Linked DNA regions of Homo sapiens: region 2 is linked to region 1. The links are contacts of gene promoters, found by promoter capture Hi-C in human tissues and cell types (Jung and others, 2019). All regions are on one chromosome and are shown on one strand. Each heading gives the region's core, a stretch centred on a gene start or on the middle of the fragment in contact. The rest is flanking DNA. Distances are from core to core; before and after follow the strand shown.

The links. Contacts are between HindIII fragments. The study calls those that stand out against the background at their distance.
Region 2: a contact is called between a fragment that was not itself captured here and the fragment with the promoter of CST1 in region 1, in 1 of the 25 tissues and cell types used here (bladder).

What each region holds. Positions count from the first base shown.
Region 1 is chr20:23,748,321-23,754,982 of GRCh38, reverse strand. It overlaps CST1 (cystatin SN), which reads left to right and starts at 4,048. Exons shown (of 3, transcript NM_001898.3): 1 at 4,048-4,344; 2 at 5,854-5,967. The coding sequence starts at 4,117. RefSeq lists enhancers at 1,780-2,293, 2,294-2,808. The HindIII fragment of the contact is 8,409 bases long and covers 1-6,662 here.
Region 2 is chr20:23,697,051-23,703,712 of GRCh38, reverse strand. No RefSeq gene overlaps it. Among named protein-coding and RNA genes, the nearest start is that of CST4, 11 kb to the right of the region's middle. The HindIII fragment of the contact is 3,930 bases long and covers 1,349-5,278 here.

The DNA of each region.
Region 1 (6,662 bases), core at 2,799-5,298:
CTGCCCTCTCTTGCCTTTCCCAGCCGGGGCTGCCAGCAGGCTTCCCCATGAGTATCAGTTTCCTAATGATGTGGAAAAGCCAAATGTGGTACCAACATGGGCCCATAGTTTAGAAGCATCCACATGTCCTAACAGAGCCAAATGTGTTACCAACATGGGCCCATAATTTAGAAGCATCCACGTGTCCACGATGTGTGAGGAGAGGGAGAAAAGAAGGAAGGATGGAGTGTGAAAGAGATGAGCTTGACCCCAGAGAATTCCAGGCACTCCATAAAGGAGGCTCCTGGGCTTCCCATTTGAGAAGCCACCAAATCCTGTGGCTGTTCAGTCCCAGCTCCTACCATAGACCAAACTGTTAGTTGCTCAAAACCCAGTTGTGCAGAATCTCAACTCTTGGCCAGCTTGTCCTCACCACTTGCACTTTTACATGATGCTTTCTGCGCTTGGTCATTTATTATGGTATTGTTTAGTGTTCACTTATTATTGGTCATTTATTGCAGAGAACTTCTGCCACTCACCTAATTTCTCATCCTACTAATTCAGATAATCAGATCAGTTCACCTGTGCAGCCTAGGGGAACACAGCTTTCTCTTTTGTCACCTAGCAGAAGGAAAACATGCCCCCTCCTGGGCAGCTGGACTCCTCTAGGTTACATGGGTGCTGGAGGCCCCAAGCTTGTTCCTCAGTCCATGGTTGCTATCTGGCCCTCTTCTAGTGTGTCCTTAAAACTGTGGACTATAGAAATCAGGGAACAAAGTGTTCTGCCATTTTTTTTAGATGGGTGTTTCACTGTGTTGCACAGGCTGAAACTGAACTTCTAGACTCAAGGAATCTTCCTGACTCACTCTCCTAATAAGCTAGGATTACAGGTGCAGTACCACACCTGGCTACTCCATCATTTTTAACCATGTTGATACATCACTGCTGAAGTCTGCTCATCTCTGCTGGTCTTAACTCCCAGATACTATGCTTTAGAAAGTAGCCTCTTTCTCCAGATGCATGACAGACACACCATTTGCCTAAGGTCATCAAACATCTGGAGCAGCTGGCCAGCTACCTCAACCTGCTACTTCCTATCACTCCATACTGGACATCGCACTTGTACCTCCTCCTAAGAGCAATGTACACTGGTATTTTTCCTACTGGGATTAGAGAGCTTGCTGCATCAGAACAGCTGACCCTCCCTGCAGTGCATGCCAGTGCCCAGACAGAAGATGACCACTGGTGGTGTCATCACATACAGGGCACAGGTCAGCACTCTGGCCTCCCTCCCTCATACTCCACCCACCAGCACATTCTCGCTATTTGGGTTACCTGCATCTCCTTTCCAATGATTAAAACAAAACAAAACAAACAAACAAAAACAAACAAAAAAACAAGAGGATTGCTTGACCTTCAGTTTACCCTCTGCACAGCATGTCTTCCTGAGCCTGGACTCCCAGCTGTCCCAGGAAGGTGGGAGCCACAGAGGAGAACTAACTCCTACCCTTTGGAGATGACCATTCTGCTCCCAAACACCTGGTAAGGGACTTCCTTCTCTTTCCCTTCTTTGGAAATCTCTCCCCATTTCCTGTCTAACTAGGAGGCATATGTGCAGCTTTGTTTGAAGACCTTCCCTCCTTCACCCAGCAGTAAACACCTTCGGTACACCTGCTGTATCTGCCGGGCTGCACGGCTATTCTAGGGGTGCTGGATTCACAGTGGGGTGAGATGGTCACCAGGCCTCAGGTAACAAGGTTCCCTGTACTAATACTGAACATGAGCACCCATGAGTAATATGGTTCCCAATGCCGGGTTCCTGCTGATCCAGCCCCAGCCATGTCCCAGCCCAGGATGACTCTTGGCCAGCTTGTCCTCATCACTTGCACCTTTATGTGATGGTTTCTGCACTTGGTCATTTGTTTATTATAGTATTGTTTAGTGTTCTAAACAGGTCTGGGCTGACACTGGCCAACGCTCACCTCCACCACTCCTGGGAGAGTCCTCTGGGTGTCCTGCTAAGGTCCAGGGTTTCCTGTAGCTTCTGGCCAAGCCTGCCACCTCCCCATAAGGGCATTTGCCACAGGGTCACCTTCAGGCATGGAGGGTGGGGTTGAGAGAACAAAGGGAGCAGCTGTCTGTTCAGAGCCTCCTTCCACCCTCTCCTCTCCTGGAGTCACATTCCAGCCCAGGCCCACAGCATCCCGAGCTGGGGGCTTTGTCAGCCCATAGGACACCCAACTGACCAAATCCTCTCAGTCTGCGGAGAAGGAGAACTCACAATCCTGGCAATGAAGCAACTCGGGGGCCGCCGGAAAGCCACACTGGGCAAAGGACAAAGACACACATGGGCTCGCTCTGCAGGACTCCATTCCTGGGAAGCTCAAGGACAGGCGACCAAGGAGTCTATGGGGCCGGATGGGGACTGCCAAGGTGGGGTGGGCACGAGGGTGGCTGGAAAGGCAGGAAGATACTGTCTGGGGCAAGGCAGATGTCACAGGTCTGGATAAAGTGGTAACACAAGTGTATGCATTTATGAAACACCCCAGATTGAGCACATACTATTAGGCATTTTATTGTATGCAAATTCTACCTCATTTAAGGCAATTTTTAAAATATCAGGTGAGTCTTCCAAGCAGTGAACAGAGGAAAGGAGCCTGAAGCATGGCTGCCTAGGACAGAAGCAAGAGAGACCTGTGGGTTCCCACATTCATCCCGTGGCTGCTGCTCCCTTTCCTGACACCCCCACTGCCTCACAGGGGTCTCCGTGCACCTTCCACCGGGCCCCACCCACATTTACTGTGAGACTCCAGGTCGTTCCCTTCCCTCCTCATACCCCCTCCAGGAGCTTCCACTTTCTGGAGCAGGCATGTCCCAACCCCACCTCAGGGCCTTTGCACTGGCTGTTCCCCACTGCCTGGGGCTTCTCAACCTCTCCAGTCTCATAGAGACCACCCTGACCAGGGTCCAGTGGTCTCTCTCTAGCCCCTGTTCTATTTCACTTCCAAAAGAGTGAGCATAACTCCCTGACCCTAATTTTTGATCGTAACCTACCATCCCCTACACACATTGTGTAGGAATGGACTATGGAGTTCCATAGAACCAGCCACATGTGCCACAGGATACTTGAAATGGGGCCAGTCCAAAATTACTTCTGGTCTAAGTGTTAAAAATACACAGGGAATTTCAAAGATTTACAAAACCAAAAAAAAAAAAAACAAAAAAAAAAAAAACATAAACGATCTCATTAATAATTGTTCCCATTAGCTGAAATCACATTGTGGCTATATAAGGTTAAATAAATATTTTAAACATTACTTTCACCCATTTATTCTCATCTTTTAAAATGCATCTACTAGAAATTTTCAATTGCTCGTGAGTTCGTGTCACATGTCTGTTGGGCAGCAGCTCTGCAATGTCACCTCTATGGCTCATCATCCAGGTTCCGTCTTCAAGCCCTAGACCTCCTGGCACGGGGAGTAGCTGGTGATAGGTTTGCTTATTGAATAATGAATTATGAAAAGAGAATCCAGTGACCTTTTCCAAAAAGGTTAATTCCCTTAAATTTGGCAAAGAAATTCTCCACATTAGGGTATGGACAGGGTCTTCTGGAACTTTCTGAAATAATCTCCCTGTTCCAGAGATTCAGAGACTGTGACCAAGTGCTCCTGGATGCCCCTGATATCTGAAGACCCTGGGAGGCCAAGCCCTGTATTTTTCCCCTTTCTGAGCAAACAGGAAGTCACATAGCTTTCACAGTCAAAGGACCAGTGTCACCTCTGTGGAGACCTGGGTGACTCAAGCTTGGGAGCACTGGGGAAGAGAGGCATGGCTCGGGGAGGCTGCAGTGAGGACTGGAGTGGGGAGGAGGGGGAGATGGAGGAGGAGGCCTGGGAGGGGCAGGGGGAACTTAGGCAGGGAGGGAGCTTGTAGTAGCGGGGGAGTGAAAAGAGAGATGGAGAAAGAGGGGATGGGAAGAAAGAGGAGGAGGAGTCAGGGGTGGGGCATGGAGGTGGGTGGGGCTGGGCTGCCAAAGCAGGATAAATGCACACCTGCCTGCTGGTCTGGGCTCCCTGCCTCGGGCTCTCACCCTCCTCTCCTGCAGCTCCAGCTTTGTGCTCTGCCTCTGAGGAGACCATGGCCCAGTATCTGAGTACCCTGCTGCTCCTGCTGGCCACCCTAGCTGTGGCCCTGGCCTGGAGCCCCAAGGAGGAGGATAGGATAATCCCGGGTGGCATCTATAACGCAGACCTCAATGATGAGTGGGTACAGCGTGCCCTTCACTTCGCCATCAGCGAGTATAACAAGGCCACCAAAGATGACTACTACAGACGTCCGCTGCGGGTACTAAGAGCCAGGCAACAGGTAGGTGCTCCCTCCACCCCAGGGGTCCTGGGTCCCAGCCTGGTTTGTTCCCCAACCCCCAAGAGCATTCCCAGCAAATCAACACTGATACATTCATGATCTAATGCTCAGATTCATTCAGCTTTCCCTGGCTCTCCGCTGATGCCCTTCATGCCTAAGCACGCTCCCCGGCCGTGCACAAACTCAGCTTCCTTTAACCTGCAGCAGCCACTGTGTCTGTACCATGACTGTGGCATTTCCCAGGGTCCAGCAGGTGTGGATGGAGACTGTGCTTACTCTGGGTGGGCTTGATGCTGCTCAGGATGAGATCCAGGCCATGAGGTTCATACTCCTCCCTGAGTCCTCTCTGCAGGGGCCACACAGGAACCTGGCTCACTGTTCTGCAGAGCCCTGCTTCCCCAAGTCACGCCCCTGGGCACAGCCCCTTATGGCTAGCGGCCTTCACCCTCAGGCCGGCTGACAAACCCCTACAGCCCAGGGCGCTGAGTCCCTGCTGGGGTGGAGCATGCCTGACCCTGCCTCTACCAGCTGATGCAGTTAGACCTCAGCCAGATGAGGACAGTGGTCACCCAGCAGAGCAGAGGAGGGGTCAGGTCGGGAGGGAGCTTCAGCAGGGCAACTGGGCCCAGCTTGACCTGCATCCCATGGCACAGCAGCAAATAGTGACACAGTCTTTAGAGCTCCTCCACCTTCTCCTGGAAATTCAAAGGAATCCCCACCAGCCCCGTTTCTCCTCTTGCAGCTGTCAGCTGGGGCTCTCTCCCTGCATACGAGATACACTCCCTGGTGCCGTGGTCCCCGCTGGCCTGCATCTCCCTTTCAAGCATGACAGTAACTTGGAGTGAAGCACAGGGCATTGCAGACCATCAGGCCCAGAAGCCTATTTTAGACATGGGTAAACTGACACTCGAGGGATCTCAGCAGTTCCTCCTGGTTCCAGAGAGTCCCTCATCCCAGGTTTCTCCACAGCTCTGCCACATTGTGTCTGGGAAAGGCCCTATGCAGGGAAAGGGTTCAATTCTAATCTGCAACTGTAAGACACGCAGGTGTGCTGCTGACTTGAGAAATGTATCTTGAATCTCACACTTGAAATGGTGGCATCCGGGCGGCCCCATTGATCCAAAATATCTGTGTGTGTGAAGCATCTCATTTCCTACTCTGAGTGAAGTAATAAATCTATGTTAAATGGAGGGAATAAGATTTTCAGAAGTTAGGTGAAATTTTGTCATCAGACAGACTTCCTAGAAAAGAGTCAGTGTTCCCTCGCCCCTGAGCCACAGACAGCAGAATTCAATGAATCCTTTTACCCAGCACAGAGAAAGCAATGTTTAAGAGCGGGTATGAGGCTCAGCACCCTGCCAGTTGACAGGAAGAGGGGGCTTGTGTGCCTTGTGTTGACATGTGGGCAGCTCACGAAGCCCCCAAGCAAGTCCAGTGACTCAGCCACAGTGAAGTGCCTGTGAGTGCATGAACTGATGGGGGCGCTGTCCTGTTTTCTCCTGTGTGCAGACCGTTGGGGGGGTGAATTACTTCTTCGACGTAGAGGTGGGCCGCACCATATGTACCAAGTCCCAGCCCAACTTGGACACCTGTGCCTTCCATGAACAGCCAGAACTGCAGAAGGTACGTTCCTGATGCAGGTCCCGGGCCAGTCATGCACTGCAGAGGGGTGCGTATGTGTCAGCCTCTGCCCTACACATGTTTGGAGGGTGTGTGTGTGCAGGTGGGTATGTGGGGAGCCGTGTATGCATGGATGTGTACGTGTTCATGTACTTATGGGGGGGTGTGCATGTAGGTGTGCATGTGGAAAGGTGCACGTGTGTACACACCTGTGCCAGTGTGTGCAGGGAGGTGGATGGGAGCATGTGTGCCTGTGCATGGATGTGTGGGGGGTGTATGGGGCTTTGTACATAGATCCATGGGGATGAGGGGTCCAAGTGAGTTTACGTAGTTGTCCATGTATGTGCAGATGGGGTGGTGAGGGAGGAGGGTGATGTGTTTGATTTGCTAGGAAGGCTTTAGGTTGGGAATGGTTACTATAAGGTCAATTCTGCCTGCTTTGGAGTGTTGCCTGTTGGACAGGAAGAAGCAGCTGTGCGGCTGTGTGCTGGGCAGGGAGAAGGGGCTCTGTCTAATCCCAGCCTCAGGCACCTGCATGCAGCCACAGCCACAGTGATCAGATTAGTGGGACCTAGAGGCCTGTTAGCTGGGAAGCCCTGGACCTGCCCGGCTCACCCAACACCAGCCTCTCCAAGGACCTGCTGGTTCTTGTGAGGTCTCCACTCAGGGGAGAGCCACACTCCCCTTGTTGCCCTTGC
Region 2 (6,662 bases), core at 2,064-4,563, 51 kb after region 1:
GTCCAATACAAATGGAAGCTTTGGTTTTCATTTTACTAAGGAGTAAAGAGGGAAAAATAGTACTAGCTGAGTAAGAGATTTTCAAGAACAGGGAACTTTCCAGATAAAACACCATTTTTCCAAATAGGTCTCAGGTCTAAATACATTTGGAGCATCCTACCCCTTGAATCCTGGGAAAAGAGACATCCAGTCTCCCAGACAAGAATTGCCCCATCCTCCAAACATTCACAGATCTAACACCCACTGTAGTTTAAAAGGCAGGATATTTGTGGTGTGGGTCCTGACTCCACCATCTCTTGGTTAGGGTTCCTGGAAACAGACTCAGATGGAAATTCAAGGGCAAGAGGCTCACTGAGGCATGTGCTAGGGAGGCAGGGGAATGGGGTGGGGCAGAGGAAGAAGTCAGGCAGGGGTGCAGCTCAGCAGAGGGGCATGAGGTGGGGCAGAGGGAAAAGTCAGGCAGGGGTGCAGGTCAGCAGAGGCCAAAGTCAGGCCCATGGAGATCTCTGCAATGGGGATGGCCTCAGAGTGGTAGCATATTAGGGCAAAAGAGTCAACATTTTGTACTCCCTTATAGACCTATTATTTAAAATAGGCAATTCCAGGAGGGACATGAACTTGGACAAAGCAGCTCCCTTTGACTCAGATCAATGCCCACAGAAGGACTCAGCTGTGAGCCATCAGTGGCCACACTCCCAGTAGCTGAGAGAATGAAGTCTCACTGGTAAAGCAGAAACTGATAGATGGAACCCTTAATGAGAGAGCTAGGGATGTCATCTCTAGGAGACTCAGTTAACTTATCTGTACAATGGGAAGAATTATAACTATGACTACATATGGTCATTTAAGAAATAAATGAAATTTTGCTCCTCTCATGAAGTTATTAGCTGGTTGCTTTGTAGTTTCTATTGCATAGTTGCTTTACAAAGTCTGTGGACTATGTACTTGTTTGTTTTTATGTTAGCTGGATCTTTCTTTTGTTTTCATGTGTAGTACTTCCTTAAGAATCTCTTGTAAGCCTGGTCTACTGGTAACAAATTTCCTTACTGATTGTTTGCCTGAGAAAGATTTTATTTCTCTTTGCTTCTAAAGCTTAGTTTAACAGGATATGAAATTATTGGTTGAATTTTCTTGTCTTTAAAAATGCTGAAAATAGGTTCCCATCACTTCTGACTTGTACAGTTTCCACTGAGAACTTTGCAGTTAGCCTGATGAGGTTTCCTTTGTACATTATCTGACATTTTTCTCTAGATGCTTTTAAGATTTTTTATTTAATTGACCTTGAAAAGCCTGGTGACTATACGCATTGATGTTCATTTTGTATAGTATCTCGCAGGTGTTCTCAGTATTTTTTGTGTCTGGATGTCTATGACACTAGCAAGATTAGGGAAATTTTCTTGGATTACCTCAAATATGCTTTCCACATTGTTTATGTTTTCTCCTTCTCACTCAGGAATGCTAACAATTCAGAGGTTTGGTCATTTTATATAACATCATATTTCTCAAAGACTGTTCATTTCTTTTGTCTGACTCGGTTAGTTCAAAGCACTACTCTTCAAGCTCTGAAGTGATTTGTTTTGTTTGGTCTAGTCTAATAATAAAGCTTTCAATTGTATTTTGAAATTTCTTCAGTGGAGTTTATCAGTTCGACAAGCTCTGACTGATTTCTTTTAAAATGTGTTTCTCTTTCTTCATTTCCTGGATTGCTTAAGACATTTGTTTTTGTTGATTTTCAATATTGTCTTGGATCTCATTGAGCTTTCTTGCAATGTATGCTTTGAATTCTTTATCTGTCATTTTTGAGTTTTCATTTTGGTTAGGAACCATTCTGGAGAGATAGTACAATCTTTTGATGGTGTCACAACATTCAGATGTTTCATGGTTCCAGGATTCTTGTGCTGTTTTTTTCTCATCTGGACATATTGGCACTTCCAATTTTTGTAATTATTTTCATACAGACAGATTTTTTTTTCTTTCTTTCCCTACGTCATTGTTTTTCTTTCCATTTCAACCCCTCTCCAGGGGGTGTGATTATAGGGTTTTTGGCTTTGCTTCTATAACCCTATAGGGCAGGCATAACTACAGGTGCTCCAATAGCAGGTACAAGCACCAGCATTGAGTGGGAGTCCAGTGGGCATCAATTGAGCACCCAGAGATGTGCCTAGGCATGGATATGAGAAACCTCCTTGGACTCAGCTTCTCTGCAGGAGGTGGAATGCCTAAATTCCTAATCCAGGGGAGTGCGTGCTCCAGATCCCCAGATATCTGCCTTGGCATGGAGTGCAGCAGGTGCTGCTACACCGCAATCTCTGCACAGGAATGTTGGGGCAGCTCAGGCTATTGTTCCAAGTGAGCAGCTGCTCTAAATATCTGGAGGTCTACCTGGGCATGGAGCAGAGAGGGTCCTGCTTCACCACTGTCTCTGTACAGGAAGGGTAAGGCAGCAAAGGCTGCTGATTTAGGCACACAGGTGCTCTGAATGCCTGGAGATCTACCTGGGTGTGGAGTACAGAGGGCCCTGCTGCACCACAGTCTATACATAGGAAGGGTGGGGCTGCTTAGGCTGATGATCCGAGGGAGCAGTTGCTCTGAATGCCAAGAGATCAGCCCACGTGTGGGGCAGAGAGGATCCAGCCACTCCACAATCTCAGGGAATAAGTCTGGCGCATCCAGCACTCATACACAGAGACCAGTTCCAGGTACCAAGATGACCTTGACTGCAAGTGTCATCACCCAGGAGAAACCATGGCTGCAGCAGACCTCCTCTGGCTCTAGACTTGCAACAAGGGTGAGCACAATTCCAACACCTATTATTAGGGCATTTTTCGCAGTCACTGCTCAGTTCTAATATGGAGGCCCCTACCCCATTCTAGCATAAGCACTCCCATATGGCCCAAGACTAAAATGAGTTTGTGGGCAAGCTGCTGGGTCACCTAAGAATGACTGACTTATGAGCCCAGATTAAAAATAGCATACTGCCCTTAGTCCTAGGTCTAACAAAATGGCAGCAGCTTTTTCCAGTGTCTTTCCTTCTCAGAGTGTCCAAGCATCTCCCCAAGTTAGCTCTAGGGCTTGGGAGAAACAAAGTGCTCTCCCTTGGCCTGGTTCCATGGAATCCCCAGTGGAAGGGTACATCACAGAGGAAGACTCTCTGCCCCCTCACATTCTGGGATATCACTCACTTTTATGAGGAACACATTGTCTTAGGGGCTATTTGCCTGCATTCTCCTCCCCAGAATCTGAGGTGTCCTTCAGGATTCCAGTGGATTCCCACTCGCCTTTTTGAGTTAAAACTCACAGAGCTGATCACTAGGTACTATTTTGCTATTTCCAAGTGTTTGAGGCACACCGAAAGCTTCTAATCTACCACTGGGGGAAAAAAATGCACAATGTTTATCAGAATCCCTGACCTCTGTCCACTAAATGCCGTAGCACATCCTCCCAAGCAGCAACGACCAAAAATGTCCTAGACATTACCAGTGTGCCCTGGGAAGCAAAATTGCCCCAGGTGAATAACTACTGACAGAGGCACCATGGCCTCCCTGTAGCAATGAATGAGCACAGGCACCACTCGGCATTGCTTTCTGAACTCACCACAGATTTCAGCCAGTAATTCTAGAGTTGGATGAAGGAAAGTATAAAATAGATCTAGAACTTCTTGTTATTAATACATGAGAAGGTAAGGATAGGCTCCAATAATAATGGAAATCTGTCAAGAGAACAGAAGAAGCTGCTTAAAGGAGCTCTTGGTAGCCAATTGTGAGATAATCTACACACTGGAATAATAGTGGTAACAGATTATAACTTCTTGAATAAAATAAGAAACCATGAGTTAGATCTGTCGAGAGACAGAAGCTAGGTAGGTAGGTATGTAGATAAACAGACAGATGAGAAAAGCAAGTTTTCCTTACAGTGGAATGAATGCCATTAATAAATACAGAAGAAATGATGAAGTTAGAAAAAAATAGTCACAATAATCATAATAACAACTGATTTAGGAAAGAATTATCATTATATGCTAATGGTAGAAAGTAAAAGTTTAATAAGAAGTAGAACATAAAACTATTTTCTAAGTATTGCTCTGTGAAATACTTATTAATTACACAAACAAAAAAAAGTAACTTAAGAGTGGAGAAACCTGGAAGATACTATCTATATCTAGAGATTAATGTTAACATGTATCAGCAATTGGACAATGGTATCCTGGCCTCCTGGAATGATGATATACTGAGGGACACAATGCCACTTCTATAATTTTCATCTGAAAAAAATGCATCACCTGAATCTAATCCACTGACGACCCCAACAGAAAACATTCTTCAAAGTAGCCAGTTATCTTCAAAAATGACAGGATAACAAAGACAAGAAAGAATGAAAAGCGTTTCCAGATTAAAGGAGACTAAGGAAGCTTGGCAAACAAACACAATTGATAAACTGTCTGAACAATAGACTAGATAAAAGGCTGTATCCACACAAGCATCATGATTTTGCTCATTGCACTGAGGTTGTGTTAGAGAATGTCCTTGTCCTTAGGACACACACATGAAAGTATCTGAGGACAAAAGAGGTCATGTCTGCAATTTGCACTCAAATGACTCAGAAAAACCTATAATAGCTTGTACATATAGAAAGAGAAGGAAAAAGCACGAGACAAAATGTTAAGAGTGGGAGAATCTGAGTGTATACAGGAGCTCTTTATATTACTCTTCCCACTTTTTGTAAGTTTGAAATCACTACAAAATAAAAGGTGCAAAAAATAAAAACTCAAAATACAGCAAAGTTCTGCATCGGGATCACCTGAGATACACAGGCCAGTGTTGTCAGCTAGTTGGGAAGTCATGGAAACACCTCCTAACTTCTCAGCCTAGCATACATGTGTAGGGGAAATGGCCAAACCATCACGTGATGAAGCTGCAGGCTGGCTGGTTACTAAGAACACGCTTCACCAGCATCCACACTCTGTACTGTTCCTTAGAGCAGAGAGAGAGTGTGAGGCAGAAGGGACTGGGGCACTGGAGAGGATGCAGGGACAGAGGCTGAGGAGGAAGCGCCCTCCACTTCCCTCAGATGTTGTCACCTCACAAGAGATGGCCACTTTCCCCACCTCATCCTACCTGCACCTCCCTTTGCAGTGCAGGGGGTCACTGTTGTTTCCCAGACCCCTTCTTCTATTTCATCTTGAGTTTTCATCATAAAACCCCATCCTGCACATTGCACACCTTCGCAATTATTTGGCTATGATTCTGATACCATGTGAACCACACTGGGTGGGAGTAGACGTGAATTCTCTATTAGGAAGAACTCAACAATTAATATATAACAAAATGTAGGCCAAAAAAGGCTCTACCAGGCCATACCTTTTGAGCAGCCTGTTTTTATAGAGAATAAACATGGGCCTTTGGAAAGGAGCTTTCCTCATATGGAGGATCCCTTCTAGGGAGCCAGCACTTCCAAGATACCGCAGGTGGAACTCAGGAGACTGAAAAAAATCACCCTTGTTAGCAAAAGTTTAGTCAGCCACTGCCAGCATGAAAGCCACAGGCTTCCTGGAAGTGTGTGCCATGTCACAGCACAGAGCAGAGGGGTTTTCCTAGATTCAAGGGGGTGTGCCAGGATTGATGGACAGCTGTCTCCCTTGCTGGAACAAAACTATACATGCATGCCCCCTCTGCCATGTGGCTAGCAGCAACTCTCTCCAGAAAATGCAGCATAAACCCCCATTGCCTTTGTGCATGGTCATGGGTCTTGCTTGGGTCTTAACAGATGTGACAAGGACAGAGACCTTAACCCTGCAGATGCGAGAGGTGGGTCCTCCTGCTCCCCTCCTCACCATCATGAAGAAAACCTGACCCAAGCAGACACTGCCCCTTAGCATGGGCCCCGGGATGAAGACACAAGGCAAGCCAGACCAGATCTGCTAAGCCCCAGCCCATCTGCAGGCTCCAGAGCGTGACAGGAACAGTTTCTTGCTTTTAGTCCCTAAGATGTTAAGGGTTTTTCCTATGGAAAAGAAACTGACTCATACATGGTTTATTCCATTTTCCGCTGTATGCCTTCTCCACTCTTTTCCCAAATGAACTCTTTACTGCCTCCATGACAACCTACATCCCATAAGTAATTGAGCTGCTGGTTGTAAAGAAACAGAAGCTTTAAAAGTTTCCTTTTGGCAAATCCTAAAAGCAGCCCATATATCAGAGATCCAGGACAGCACTTAACTGTTCCCACATATGAAGAAGCAATCCAGGAGGTCTGTGGGGCACAGCATGCTGGTCCTCCGCACTGCCCAGGTCCTGGCTCCCGACTGTAATTCAAGACAGCACCTCAGTGAGAAAAGGGGAGGATCCCAGTTCCCCCTGTCAAACAGCACCCTAACCCTAAAGTGACATGCTGAAGAGAGGCAAAGGAGAATGCAAACCACCACTGAATGGCTGTTCCATTAGAGAGCAAAACAGAATAATCACAGAGGCTGGAATCCACTTTTAGCTTTTATAATCTGATGCACACGACAAACAACACAAGTAGGACTGGGGACTCCCAGGTTGGCTGCCCTATTTCTTTATGATTATTTCTCAGATATTTAGAACTTTCTCTCTCTTTTTTTATACTTTAAGTTGTAGAGTACATGTACACAACGTGCAGGTTTGTTACATATGTATACATGT